4 separate regions of the Homo sapiens genome follow, and regions 1, 3 and 4 are each linked to region 2. The links are contacts of gene promoters, found by promoter capture Hi-C in blood cells and fetal thymus (Javierre and others, 2016). All regions are on one chromosome and are shown on one strand. The core of a region is centred on a gene start or on the middle of the fragment in contact, and the rest is flanking DNA. Distances in the headings are between cores, read along the strand shown. Region 1 has its middle 20 kb from the start of SLC32A1. Region 2 holds the start of FAM83D (family with sequence similarity 83 member D). Region 3 holds the start of SLC32A1 (solute carrier family 32 member 1). Region 4 overlaps ACTR5 (actin related protein 5).

Region 1 (2,715 bases), core at 147-2,646, 220 kb before region 2:
AGTAAAAACTGAAGGGGTGAGGGAGTGAGCCATGTGGATGCTGGAGGAGAGGGTTCTAGGCAGGGGGATAGTCAGTGCCAATTCCTGAAGCAGGAAGAGAACCAGAATGACAAGTAGCAGCAAGCTGGGTATGAAGAGAAAGATAAGAAATGAGGTCAGAGTAGGGGAGGCAGATCCCACAAGGCCTGGTGGGCCACCCTGAAGGTCTTTGGCCATTGCTCTGAATGAGATGGGAGCCACTGAAGGTCTTTGAGCAGGGGAGGCCAGGATCTGACCCATGTCATAACAGCCTCACTCCAGATTCTGTATTGTGTGGAGATTGCAGGAGGGGTTGGGGCAAAAGCAGGGAGTCCAGACTGGAGACATTGGCCAGAATTCAGCTAAGAGATGCTGGTGTTAGTAACATGATGGGGGTGATAATGACATGAACTGACCAAAATCTAGATCACAGATTCATGGAGTATAAAAAGCTGACTTTCCCAGGCCCGTCTTTTCCTGGGGGCAGTCTCCCTTTGGCCCGATGCCCTGGCCCACCCTATATGGTGGGTTGATGGCACTGTCACTCCTGCAAACCCTGCTCCTGTCCTCACTCCACCACCCTGCTGCATGCCCTGGAGGAGACTTCTGGGACACTGAGCCCCTGCCCATCAGGCCCTTCCAGATCTGAAGTGTCTGGCCCTGTAGCAGCCCAGCTCCCAAATTCTCACCCCTCCTCTTCTTTAACCTTAGCTGCCTGACCCCCTTATGGACAGGAGTCCCTGCTCCCCTCTCCGGCCTGCCCCAGGCTCCAGCCACATCAAAAGGCTTGCAGTTGCAGTTGCCCAAATGCACCAGGTCTTTCCCATCTCTGGACCTTGCTAGAATGCCCCTCCTTCACCCTTTTTATCTAAACAACTCCTTCTATTTCCTCAAGACTCAACCCAAGTGTCATCCCTTCCAAGAACTCTTCTGAGGCCCCTTCAAATTGGGACATCCCTTTCCCCTATTCTCTTAGCCACAACACTTTCTCTGGGGAACTATGTCTCCCTCACATAACTCTACACCTAAGCTACCTGAAGTGAGCCCACCTCCATGAACTTGCTCCAGTCCGTGGCTCCCTATGCCTGATGTTTAGAACACAATGCAACTTTATCTTACCTTCCAGCTCTATCTTCCACACATGCCTTCTGCCTTCTCCAGCTCCTACCACACTTGACATCCCCCACTCCTTCGCCATGAGTTTTCCCCTTTCAGTGGATGAGAAGTGGCCCAGGATGTTCCCAGTGACACATTAGCATGTGCCCTATGCAGAGGGGCAGGATGGACTTTCAGATGCCTGGGGGATGACAACGAGGCACATGCCTGGGAGTGAGATGAGGCTGTAGTGCTCTTGAGCTCCTAGTCAGACAGGCCTGGGGTTGAAACTCGGTGGTGACACCTACTAGCTATGTGACCTTGGGCAAGCCATTTCAACTCTATGAGCCTTGGTTTTCTCCTTTGTTTCGTTGTTGTTGTTGTTTTGTTTTGTTTTTGTTTTTTGTTTTGAGGCAGAATCTCACTCTGTCACCCAGGCTGGAGTGCAGTGCCATTATCTCAGCTCACTGCAACCTCCGCCTCCTGGGTTCAAGCGATTCTCCTGCCTCAGCCTCCCTAGTAGCTGGGATTACAGGCACACACCACCACACCCAACTAATTTTTGTATTTTTAGTAGAGATGGGGTCTTACCATGTTGGTCAGGCTGGTCTCGAACTCCTGACCTCAAATGATCCACCCACCTCAGCCTCCCAAAGTGCTGGGATTACAGGAGTGAGCCACCACACCCGGCCAGTTTTCTCCTTTGTAAAATGGAATATGAATACCTGCGTGGCAGGGGTGTCATGAGAGCCCAGTGAAATAATGAACACAAAACGGTTAGCACGTGACTGACATTTCATGAAAGCATCACCAAATTGCCATAATCATTGTCACGAAACAGATCAAACAGAAAACCTCTGCCATTTTTCTAACCATAGCAGTGACAGGGGAATGTACTTTTTGCTCAGACCTGACAGTGCCTGGCTTGTCAGGATAATTCAGGATCCTCCAAGACCCAGCTCTGGGTGGTTCATGACTAGTCAGTTGCAGTTTGACAATTTTGTATTGAGGACCTGAGTCATAGAGGTCCAGGGCTGATGAGACGGTTGTTCTCTGTGGCCCAAGACAGGGCCATGGGAGACCTTGGCCTTAGGGTTGCAGAGGAAAAGCCTCCAACTTCAGCCTTTCTCTCAGGTGTCCTCATCAGAACAATTCTCAGTGGCAGAATTTTCAGGACATCAGCCTTGTCCAAAATGCAAGTTCCAAGGTGATGGAGGATGTGAGTCCAGACATCCCTCAACCAGCAATGGCAGAGCAGATGGGTGTTCCACACAGGCAAGGGGGCTCAACTGAAGACCTCTGGGGCCAGATATATCCCATTGTCCCCTTTGAGCTCCCTGCCAGTTCTGCTCAGGACCACTCCAGGTCTTAAGTACGTAGCAGCTTCTTGGGGTCCTTTAATTCCCCTCTCAAGTCCAGGCCAATCTTCCAACTTTTGGTGCAGGAAGGACTCTGTAAGCTCTGGTTTCGATTGGGTAAATTTACACCTGTATCCTATGGGTCCTTGTAAGTCTCTAGTTTGAGATTCCATATTTGCTTCCAATACCAGAGGTGTCAATTAACCCTGAGCATTCATCTCCAACCCAGAAGGACTGAAGACAG
Region 2 (2,915 bases), core at 200-2,699:
TAAGTCACCATGGCCAGCCACATCTGAGATTCTATGCTGCAAAAATAAGAAGTGAGATGGGGAGCTTTAGAGGAATGTAGGGTCAAGAGAGGGTTGTTTTAAGATGAAAAATATTTCAGCATGCTTGTAGGCTGATAGAAATGAATCGGTAAAGAGGGAAGCTGATGTTCCAGGAGAAAGAAGAAGATTGCTGGAGCGATGCTGGTGAGTAGTAGAGGGGCTGGAAATGCCCAGGCAGAGGGGTTGGGGTTGGATGGGCACAGGCACAGTTCATCAATGCCCAGTATACGGGCAGAGATGCAGACAGGAAGGTAGACTAGATGGCCGCACGTGGACGTTCCCTTCTTACTGTTTCTGTGTTCTTGCTGACATGGAAGACAAGCTGTCAGAGAGGAAAAGGTAGAGAGAATGAGGGAAATGCGGCCTACCAGGCAGTTTTTTTGTTTGTTTGCTTTTGTTTTGTTTTGTTTTGTTTTTAGATGGAGTTTCGATCTTGTCGCCCAGGCTGGAGTGCAGTGGTGCTATCTCGACTCACTGCAACATCCGCCTCCCGCGTTCAAGTGATTCTCCTGCCTCAGCCTCCCGAGTATCTGGGATTACAGGCGTACACCAAGACACCTGGCTAATTTTTGTATTTTTAGTAGAGACGGGGTTTCACCGTGTTGGTCAGGCTAGTCTCAAACGCCTGACCTTAGGTGATCCGCCCTCCTCGGCCTCCTAAAGTGCTGGGATTACAGGCGTGAGCCACCGCGCCCGGCCTCCTAGCAGGCAGTCTTACGGATTATGAATTTAAAACATGACCAGTCAGTAAGCATGGTTACGCTCTTTTTGTTTTTTCTTCAGCCCTGTAGGGCTGCCGGGGTGCAGGTGGAAAGTAGGGTATAACCACGGTTGGTTGGGGTTTTACAAGGCAAAAATCGATGAAATGAGAGAAGACTACCCGAGGGTGTAATCAAAGGAGCAGTCCTAATACGATGAGCCGGTATTCTTTGAATGAATGAATACATGGTTAAAGGCAGGTGATAAAGGCGATATGGTTGGCCATGCCAAAGCACTGAGAGCCTAGGAGCAGCGTGGCCAGAGTCTCCGGGAGTCGGCACCTGCCTCTCCTCGTTGTCTAGGCCTGACTGTCCCTGGCCTTGCACGGCCGCGCAGCGGGGCGACCGGCAGGGGGCGCGCTGGGATGGCCAGGAGCTCGGCTCTCCCCGCTCTGTCCCTGCTCTGCGGCCCGCCTCGCCCCTGCAAGTTTAAATTCCTCTTAGCAAGCCCAGCATCGCAGCCAATAACGCATCAGGGGGCGGAGCCGTAGAGGCTTGCGCCCCGCCTCGCTCCGCTATTGGAAGGAAAGCAGCCAATGGGAGAGCCGAGGCGGGGAGGTGCGGCCAATGGCGCGGGCCTGTTTGATTCAAAGGTTGCCTATAAAGCGGGACTGCACGCCGGTTTTTGTCCGAGGGCTGTCGAGTCCGAGCGCCGCCATGGCTCTGCTGTCCGAGGGCCTGGACGAGGTGCCCGCCGCCTGCCTGTCGCCGTGCGGGCCGCCCAACCCGACCGAGCTGTTCAGCGAGTCACGGCGCCTGGCTCTGGAGGAGCTGGTGGCGGGCGGCCCCGAAGCCTTCGCGGCCTTCCTGCGACGCGAGCGCCTGGCTCGTTTCCTGAACCCCGATGAGGTGCACGCCATTCTGCGCGCGGCGGAGAGGCCGGGAGAGGAGGGCGCGGCGGCGGCGGCGGCGGCCGAGGACTCGTTCGGCTCCTCGCACGACTGCTCTTCGGGCACCTACTTCCCCGAGCAGTCGGACCTGGAGCCACCGCTGTTGGAGCTTGGCTGGCCCGCCTTCTACCAGGGCGCCTACCGCGGCGCCACGCGTGTCGAGACGCACTTCCAGCCCCGCGGCGCTGGCGAAGGTGGCCCCTACGGCTGCAAGGACGCTCTGCGCCAGCAGCTCCGCTCGGCGCGAGAGGTGAGCGGCCCTCCAGGGCCCTGGGTCGCACGGGAGACCCCCTTCAAGAATGGGAAATTGAGGCCTGCTGGGAGTACGGGCCGGGGCCACTACCTCCTCTGCGCCCTACCGGAAGCGCGCGCGGGCTAGGTGGTCCCAGGGTCTCCGACTCACACCCCACTCTGCGTGTCTCCCCCGGATCCCCCGGGCCGCTCCTCGTGGCAGGGGATAGTGGGAAAGCCTCGGTTCCCAAGGATGCGAATTGTGCCCGGGTTCCATCTCCTAACGTTCATATCCCTGAAGGAGGGACCAGAAGTACTCTGAGTTCCAAATTTCAGTTAAAATCAAACTTGGAAAATTGCCTATTTCCCTGTCTGTCAGCCAACGCTAGATCCCACTTTCAGGAGCTTCTTAGGAGACTCATTACCAAAGAACTTACGCAGGGAAAGTTCCAGAAAGATGGTCTCCAGAGACAACTACGGGGCATTAGGAAGCAATTATTATTGCTAATTACTTTCATGCATCTTTTGCTGTAAAAAGCAGATAAACACGAGAGTGGCAAAGTGAGAGCCCTGCCGCTTTTTCTTTCTTGTCTTTTTTTTTTTTTTTTTTTTTTGAGACAGATTCTCTTTTGCCCAGGCTGGAGTGAAGTGGTGGGATCTCAGTTCACTGCAACCTCCGTCCCCCGGGTTCAAGTGACTCTCCTGCCTCAGCCTCCCAAGTAGCTGGGATTACCGGTGCCCGCCACCACGCCCGGCTAATTTTTGTATTTTTAGTAGAGACGGGGTTTCTCCATGTTGGCCAAGCTGGTCTCGAACTCCTGACCTCAGGTGATCCACCCGCCTCGGCCTCCCAAAGTGCTAGGATTACAGGCGTGAGCCACCGCACCCGGCCCCCTGCCGCTTTTTCTACTGCCAGAGACTGGAGGGGAAACTGGGGCAAGGGGTTTGTTTTCCATAGGCTGGGTCTGTGCCAGAT
Region 3 (2,866 bases), core at 259-2,758, 200 kb before region 2:
GAGAAAGGGCCTCGAGAGAGGGGAGATGGGGAGCTGCTTCCTTTTTTGTTTCCTTCGGTTTTTCCGTCCGCCCCCGCCCCCACTTCCAGTCACAGCCGCTACTTCTCCATTCAGGCTGGGACTGCCAGGTGGAGCCCTGCGGTTTACTGCTCAGGAGGAGCCCGGCCAGGACATCAGCTGGGGACTTACGCAGGGACCCATTCAGAGCAGCGGACCCTCACGGAGACTACTACAAAGGGACTAACACAGGCACGAACGCAGGCAACCCCATTCGGGAACACATACGTAATCCAACACACTAGCTCTGGCACACACACTGGAATGCGCGCAAAACCACACAGACACAGAACACACGCGGTTACCAAACCTCATTCTCAGAGGCCACACTGATCCAACCTCAAGCAGAGTCTGATACAGCATCGGTCTTTGTCTCTGGGTCTCTCCCTTACTCGCGCTCACACACCCGTACCCCAATCAACACAAACAGCCCAAGCTTTCACAGCCTGGAGGCGGCCGTCGGAGCAGGGCCCCAGCGCACCGCGAGCCTCTGCTTCCTCCGCCTTGCAGCGCCGCGAGCCCTTCTTTCCTCCGCGCCTGGCCCCGTCTGCGCCCCTCTCGGCGTGGGCATTCGCAGACCCGCTAGGAGGCTGACGAGAGGTGTCCTCATAGAGTCCTGCCTTCTTCCAGACCCCCAAACGAAAAGAAAGAGAAAAGCCAACCTTTCGCCTCCATTCTGCACGCATTTGGAGAGCGGCTGGTGGCGAGCGATCCGCACAATCGCTTCCCTCGCGGCGTCCCTGGACGGGCGGAGAGAACCCGGGTGACTGAGCCTGAGGCTGAGCTTCCTTGGGAGCGATCCATGCCAGCCACTTCTACCTTCAAGGGGGACTCGCGGCCGGGTTTACGCGCGAAGGATGGGTGCCAGGGAAACTGACTTATAGACGACCCGCTCCGCGAGAGACTGACAACTCAGTCCTGCGGGCTTTCGGGGCGCCCAGACCAGTCCTTAGCCAGAGGATCTGGGGCTGCACAGCTCCCGGACCCTGGAGGGGGTGGTCCGGGGGTGGGAGACTGCGAGCATCAGCCCACGCCGGCCCCCTCCCACCCTGCGGCGGCGAGGTGGGAAGGGCCAGGATGCGAGCTTAGCACCTCCCCTAGAAATGCAGCACTTCGCCCCCCCACCTCCCCTGCCCTCGGCGCTCCCTCTTTCACGCGCTCCCTCCCGCCTCCTTCCCAAGGGCGCCCTTCTTCTGCCCCCAGCTCACGTCTGAATCCCTCGGCGCCCCCTTTCTCTTCTCCTAGCCCCTTCCTCACGTCCCCTGCCTCCGGGTATTTCCTCTCTCCAATCCCCCACCCCCGCACCGCCTGATTCCGAGGGGCGGGAGCGCATTGGGCTGCGCACGGGTGGGGGCGCCGCGCCAGCTTCGCGTAGCTGCTCTGACGCCGCTGCCGCCGCCGCCGCCGCCGCCGCCCTCCGCAGCCCAGCTCGCGCCCCGCGGCAGCTCCGCAGTGCACTAGCCACCACCGCCGCCGCCGCCGCTCCGCCAGACCTGCTGCCAGCTTGCCCGGTCCAGCCCTGAGAGAGCCTCGAACGCCAGCTGCGAGGGTCATGAGCCAGAGAGCCCCGGGGCGCCGCGCGGAGAGCAAGCGGAGATAGCGACTTTGCGCCCCCCAGCCCTCGCCTTCTTGCATCGCGTTCCCCGCATCCTCGGGTCCTTCTGTCCTTTCCGCTGTCCCCACCGCCGCCATGGCCACCTTGCTCCGCAGCAAGCTGTCCAACGTGGCCACGTCCGTGTCCAACAAGTCCCAGGCCAAGATGAGCGGCATGTTCGCCAGGATGGGTTTTCAGGCGGCCACGGATGAGGAGGCGGTGGGCTTCGCGCATTGCGACGACCTCGACTTTGAGCACCGCCAGGGCCTGCAGATGGACATCCTGAAAGCCGAGGGAGAGCCCTGCGGGGACGAGGGCGCTGAAGCGCCCGTCGAGGGAGACATCCATTATCAGCGAGGCAGCGGAGCTCCTCTGCCGCCCTCCGGCTCCAAGGACCAGGTGGGAGGTGGTGGCGAATTCGGGGGCCACGACAAGCCCAAAATCACGGCGTGGGAGGCAGGCTGGAACGTGACCAACGCCATCCAGGTAAGCGCGGGATTCCCAGTTCTGCCTGTCCTCCCCCCTCCCAGCTCAGCGTGCCGGGCTCTGCCCCCGACAGTCGCCCGGTGATCTCGGCCTGGAGACCCCCTCCTGTACCCAGGAATCTCCCTTTCTCCATCCCTCCCAGCCCTGCGCGGGGACCTACGCCCCCAGGCGGTGTTTTCCGCCCTAACCCACGCTCCCTCCCAACGGCACCAGCTGCAAGACCGCTAGGCTGAAGTTCGGTCTGAGACACCTGTCCGGAGACACTGCAAAAGTGAAGGAAATGGGGGGAGGGAGCAGGAAGCGATGAGAAAGAAAGAAAATCAGGATTGGAGGGCACGGTTTGGTCTTGGACTCTGGAACGGATTCACAGCTGCATTTTTGGGAGGAAAGAAGAAGGGGAAATCGCTGAGGTCGGAGTCTCCTCCCCCCGCACACACGCATAGACACGCACACGTATATAGGCAGGCACACCACATGCCCACAGCCCCCCTTCCCACGAACAAAGGCGCAGGCACAGGCGCACACGACATGTATCTATATATAGACCACAGTACTATCCCCAAATGCACCTGCGTACACCCCTACAGCTCCACAAACAAAAGCATATACCTGCACATACCAAACACACGAATATTCGTTTGAACATATGCACACACACATGCACAGATGCATGCAGACAGGAACCAGCCTGCTCCCTTGGGTGCGGCCCTGTTGGAGACATACAGGTAT
Region 4 (2,700 bases), core at 182-2,681, 170 kb before region 2:
GTTCCCTTCACAAATGGTAGCTTTTATAACTTGCCTTTAATACAGAACTTGGAATTGCACAACTTTCAGCTTTTCCAGATATTAAATATTTTTAAGAGTGAGCAGAACATATCAGACTAAAAATATCTTAAGCTAGAAAACAATTGAAATTGTTTTATTATACCCTTATAATAACATCTATGCTGCAGAAACACCTCTTTTTCTTTTCAAACTTGTCTTGGACTTTTGGTTGTATTTTACTTCAAATTAAAGTATGAGTTTTAGTTGCTATTGTCACATGAATGTGATGAAAATATCTTCCTCGTGAATTTAAATAGTTCATATAAAACCAAAGGACTACGGACAATGCCACTGTGAATACAACTCTATTCCAAGAATGGATTTGCTTGTTGTCATTGAGGGTACTGATCTCAGCTGACCAATAATGAGCTCCTGAAGGACAAAAACTGCATCTTTTTTTTTTAATTGTGAAAACCATATAACATAAATTTGCCATTTTAACCATTTTTAAGTATACGTTTCATGTGTGAAGAGCTGTGTTTTAATTAACTTTAGAAAGCATTTATTAAACATCTGTTATTCCTGGGATACAAAGAAGTTGCGGGAGACAGATAGGGAAATAAATAATTGATGAGGACACTCAGTCCGGAGAGTTAGAGGCTTGCCAGAAGACACGGCTGAGGCACACAGCTCTCCGTGCTCCCACTTCTCTGTTCTCCAGTTGCTCTGGTATTGACTCTTTTTTTTTAGTTAACTTTTTCTTTTACAATTCTATGATATGATTATAAAGAGAGAGCATGAGGGAATTTTTTGGGATGATGAACTCTTCCGTATCCTGATTGTGGTGTTGATTACATATGCTTTCTCTTTATAATCATATCCTGTTTTTATCCACAATAAACAGGAACAAACTACTGATACACTCAACAACTTGAATGAATCTCAAAGGCATGATGTTGAGTAAAAAAAAAAAAAAGTTTCAAAAGGTACATACTATTTGATTCCATTTATGTGACATTTTGAAAAGATAAAACCATAGTGATAGAGAAGAAGTGAGGGAAAGATTGCCTGGGCTTGGGATAGAGACAAGCTTTTGGGTGAACTTGTTTTCATTTCTCCAGAGTAAATAGATTGCTGGGTCATGTGCTTGCATGGTATGTCTTTCCGTCCTTCTACTTTTAATCTACCTATATCATTATATTCAAAGTGAATTTCTTGGTAGTTGGATGATTTTTAAAAAAAATCTATTCAGTCAACCTCTATTTAATTGTTAGACTAAACCATTTATAATTAGTTTTAATTATTCATATGCTTGGATTTAGGTTCACCATTTTATTATTTGTTTTTGTTCCTTCTGTTTATTGTTCCTCTGTTTCTCTCTCCTGCCTCCTTTTAGGTTATTCGAGCTTTTTTTTTTTTTTTTTAAAGTATTTTATCTGTTGTGTTTTTTACTCTACCTTTTTATTGTAGTTTTTAGTGGTTGCTTTAGAGATTACAGTAAACACAACTTTTCACAGTCTACTTAGATTCTGTATTTACCACTTCAAGGGGAATGTGGAAATGTTAGCAATGTACAGACTCCTTTATTTCGCCCGGTTTATCTTAAAGTTGTCTTATTTATTTCATCTGTATACATTGGAAACCCATCAGACAGTGTTGTGATTTTTACTTTCAGTTGTCAAATAGGTTTTAAAGAACTCGTAAGGAGATTAGTCTGTTATGTTTAACCAGATTTTTATCATTTCTGTTGCTCTTCCTTCATTCCTGATGCTCCAAGCTTCCTTCTGGTGTTGTTTCTCGCTGAAGAACTTACTTAGCAGTTCTTTTAGAACAGGCCTGCTGGCATTATGTCCAGGTTTGGTAGCTGCTTTTAGTTGATTGAGTGGATTCAGGGATTGGATGGAGTGTATTTTCTCCATCTGACCTATGTCTGAAATGCTGGTACTGACTTTAAAAAAAACAATGGAGTCGGCCGGGCATGGGGGCTCATAGCTGTAATACCAGCACTTTGGGAGGCCGAGGCGAGTGGATCACGAGGTCAGGAGATCAAGACCATCCTGGGTAACATGGGGAAACCCCATCTCTACTAAAAATTCAAAAAAATTAGCCGGGCATGGTGGCAGGCGTCTGTAGTCCCAGCTACTCAGGAGGCTGAGGCAGGAGAATGGCGTGAACCCGGGAGGCAGAACTTGCAGTGAGCCGAGATCGCACCACTGCACTCCAGCTAGGTGACAGGGCGAGCCTCCCGAGTACCTGGGATCACAGGTGCCCGCCACCACGCATGGCTAATTTTTTTGTATTTTTAGTAGAGACAGGGTTTCACTGTGTTAGCCAGGATGGTCTTGATCTCCTGACCTCGTGATCCGCCCACCTCGGCTCCCCAAAGTGCTGGGATTACAGGCGTGAGCCCCTGCGCCCAGCTGGTATTGACTTTAATTGTTGTGTTAATAGTGTTTCCATTTCATAACTTTCAAAATTGTTTCTTTGAAGAATTACACAAATGGCGGTGTCCTGATTATTATGAGAATAATGTCCACAAGATGCAGCTCCCATTTTCCAGCAAGCTCCTGGGCAGCACTCTGACCTCTGAGGAGAAACAAGAAAGGCGGCAGCAGCAATTGCGGCGGCTGCAGGAGCTCAATGCCCGGCGGCGGGAGGAGAAGCTGCAGCTGGATCAGGAGCGTCTGGACCGACTGCTAT

Evidence for each region. The method cuts DNA at HindIII sites, captures the fragments that hold promoters and counts their contacts. A CHiCAGO score of 5 or more calls a contact.
Region 1: a contact is called between a fragment that was not itself captured here and the fragment with the promoter of FAM83D in region 2, in 1 of 17 cell types (total CD8 T cells). The highest score is 5.9, in total CD8 T cells.
Region 3: a contact is called between the fragment with the promoter of SLC32A1 here and the fragment with the promoter of FAM83D in region 2, in 2 of 17 cell types (activated CD4 T cells and total CD8 T cells). The highest score is 8.2, in activated CD4 T cells.
Region 4: a contact is called between a fragment that was not itself captured here and the fragment with the promoter of FAM83D in region 2, in 7 of 17 cell types (total CD8 T cells, total B cells, activated CD4 T cells and 4 more). The highest score is 8.5, in total CD8 T cells.

Annotation. Positions count from the first base shown.
Region 1 is chr20:38,703,043-38,705,757 of GRCh38, forward strand. No RefSeq gene overlaps it. Among named protein-coding and RNA genes, the nearest start is that of SLC32A1, 20 kb to the right of the region's middle. The HindIII fragment of the contact is 3,871 bases long and covers 1-2,715 here.
Region 2 is chr20:38,924,968-38,927,882 of GRCh38, forward strand. FAM83D (family with sequence similarity 83 member D) reads left to right here and starts at 1,450. Exons shown (of 4, transcript NM_030919.3): 1 at 1,450-1,958. The coding sequence starts at 1,476. RefSeq lists a silencer at 1,068-1,427 and an enhancer at 1,538-1,637. The HindIII fragment of the contact is 27,857 bases long and covers 1-2,915 here.
Region 3 is chr20:38,722,978-38,725,843 of GRCh38, forward strand. SLC32A1 (solute carrier family 32 member 1) reads left to right here and starts at 1,509. Exons shown (of 2, transcript NM_080552.3): 1 at 1,509-2,137. The coding sequence starts at 1,748. The HindIII fragment of the contact is 3,119 bases long and covers 492-2,866 here.
Region 4 is chr20:38,752,467-38,755,166 of GRCh38, forward strand. It overlaps ACTR5 (actin related protein 5), which reads left to right. Exons shown (of 9, transcript NM_024855.4): 4 at 2,491-2,700. Among named protein-coding and RNA genes, the nearest start is that of ACTR5, 5.4 kb to the left of the region's middle. The HindIII fragment of the contact is 687 bases long and covers 1,089-1,775 here.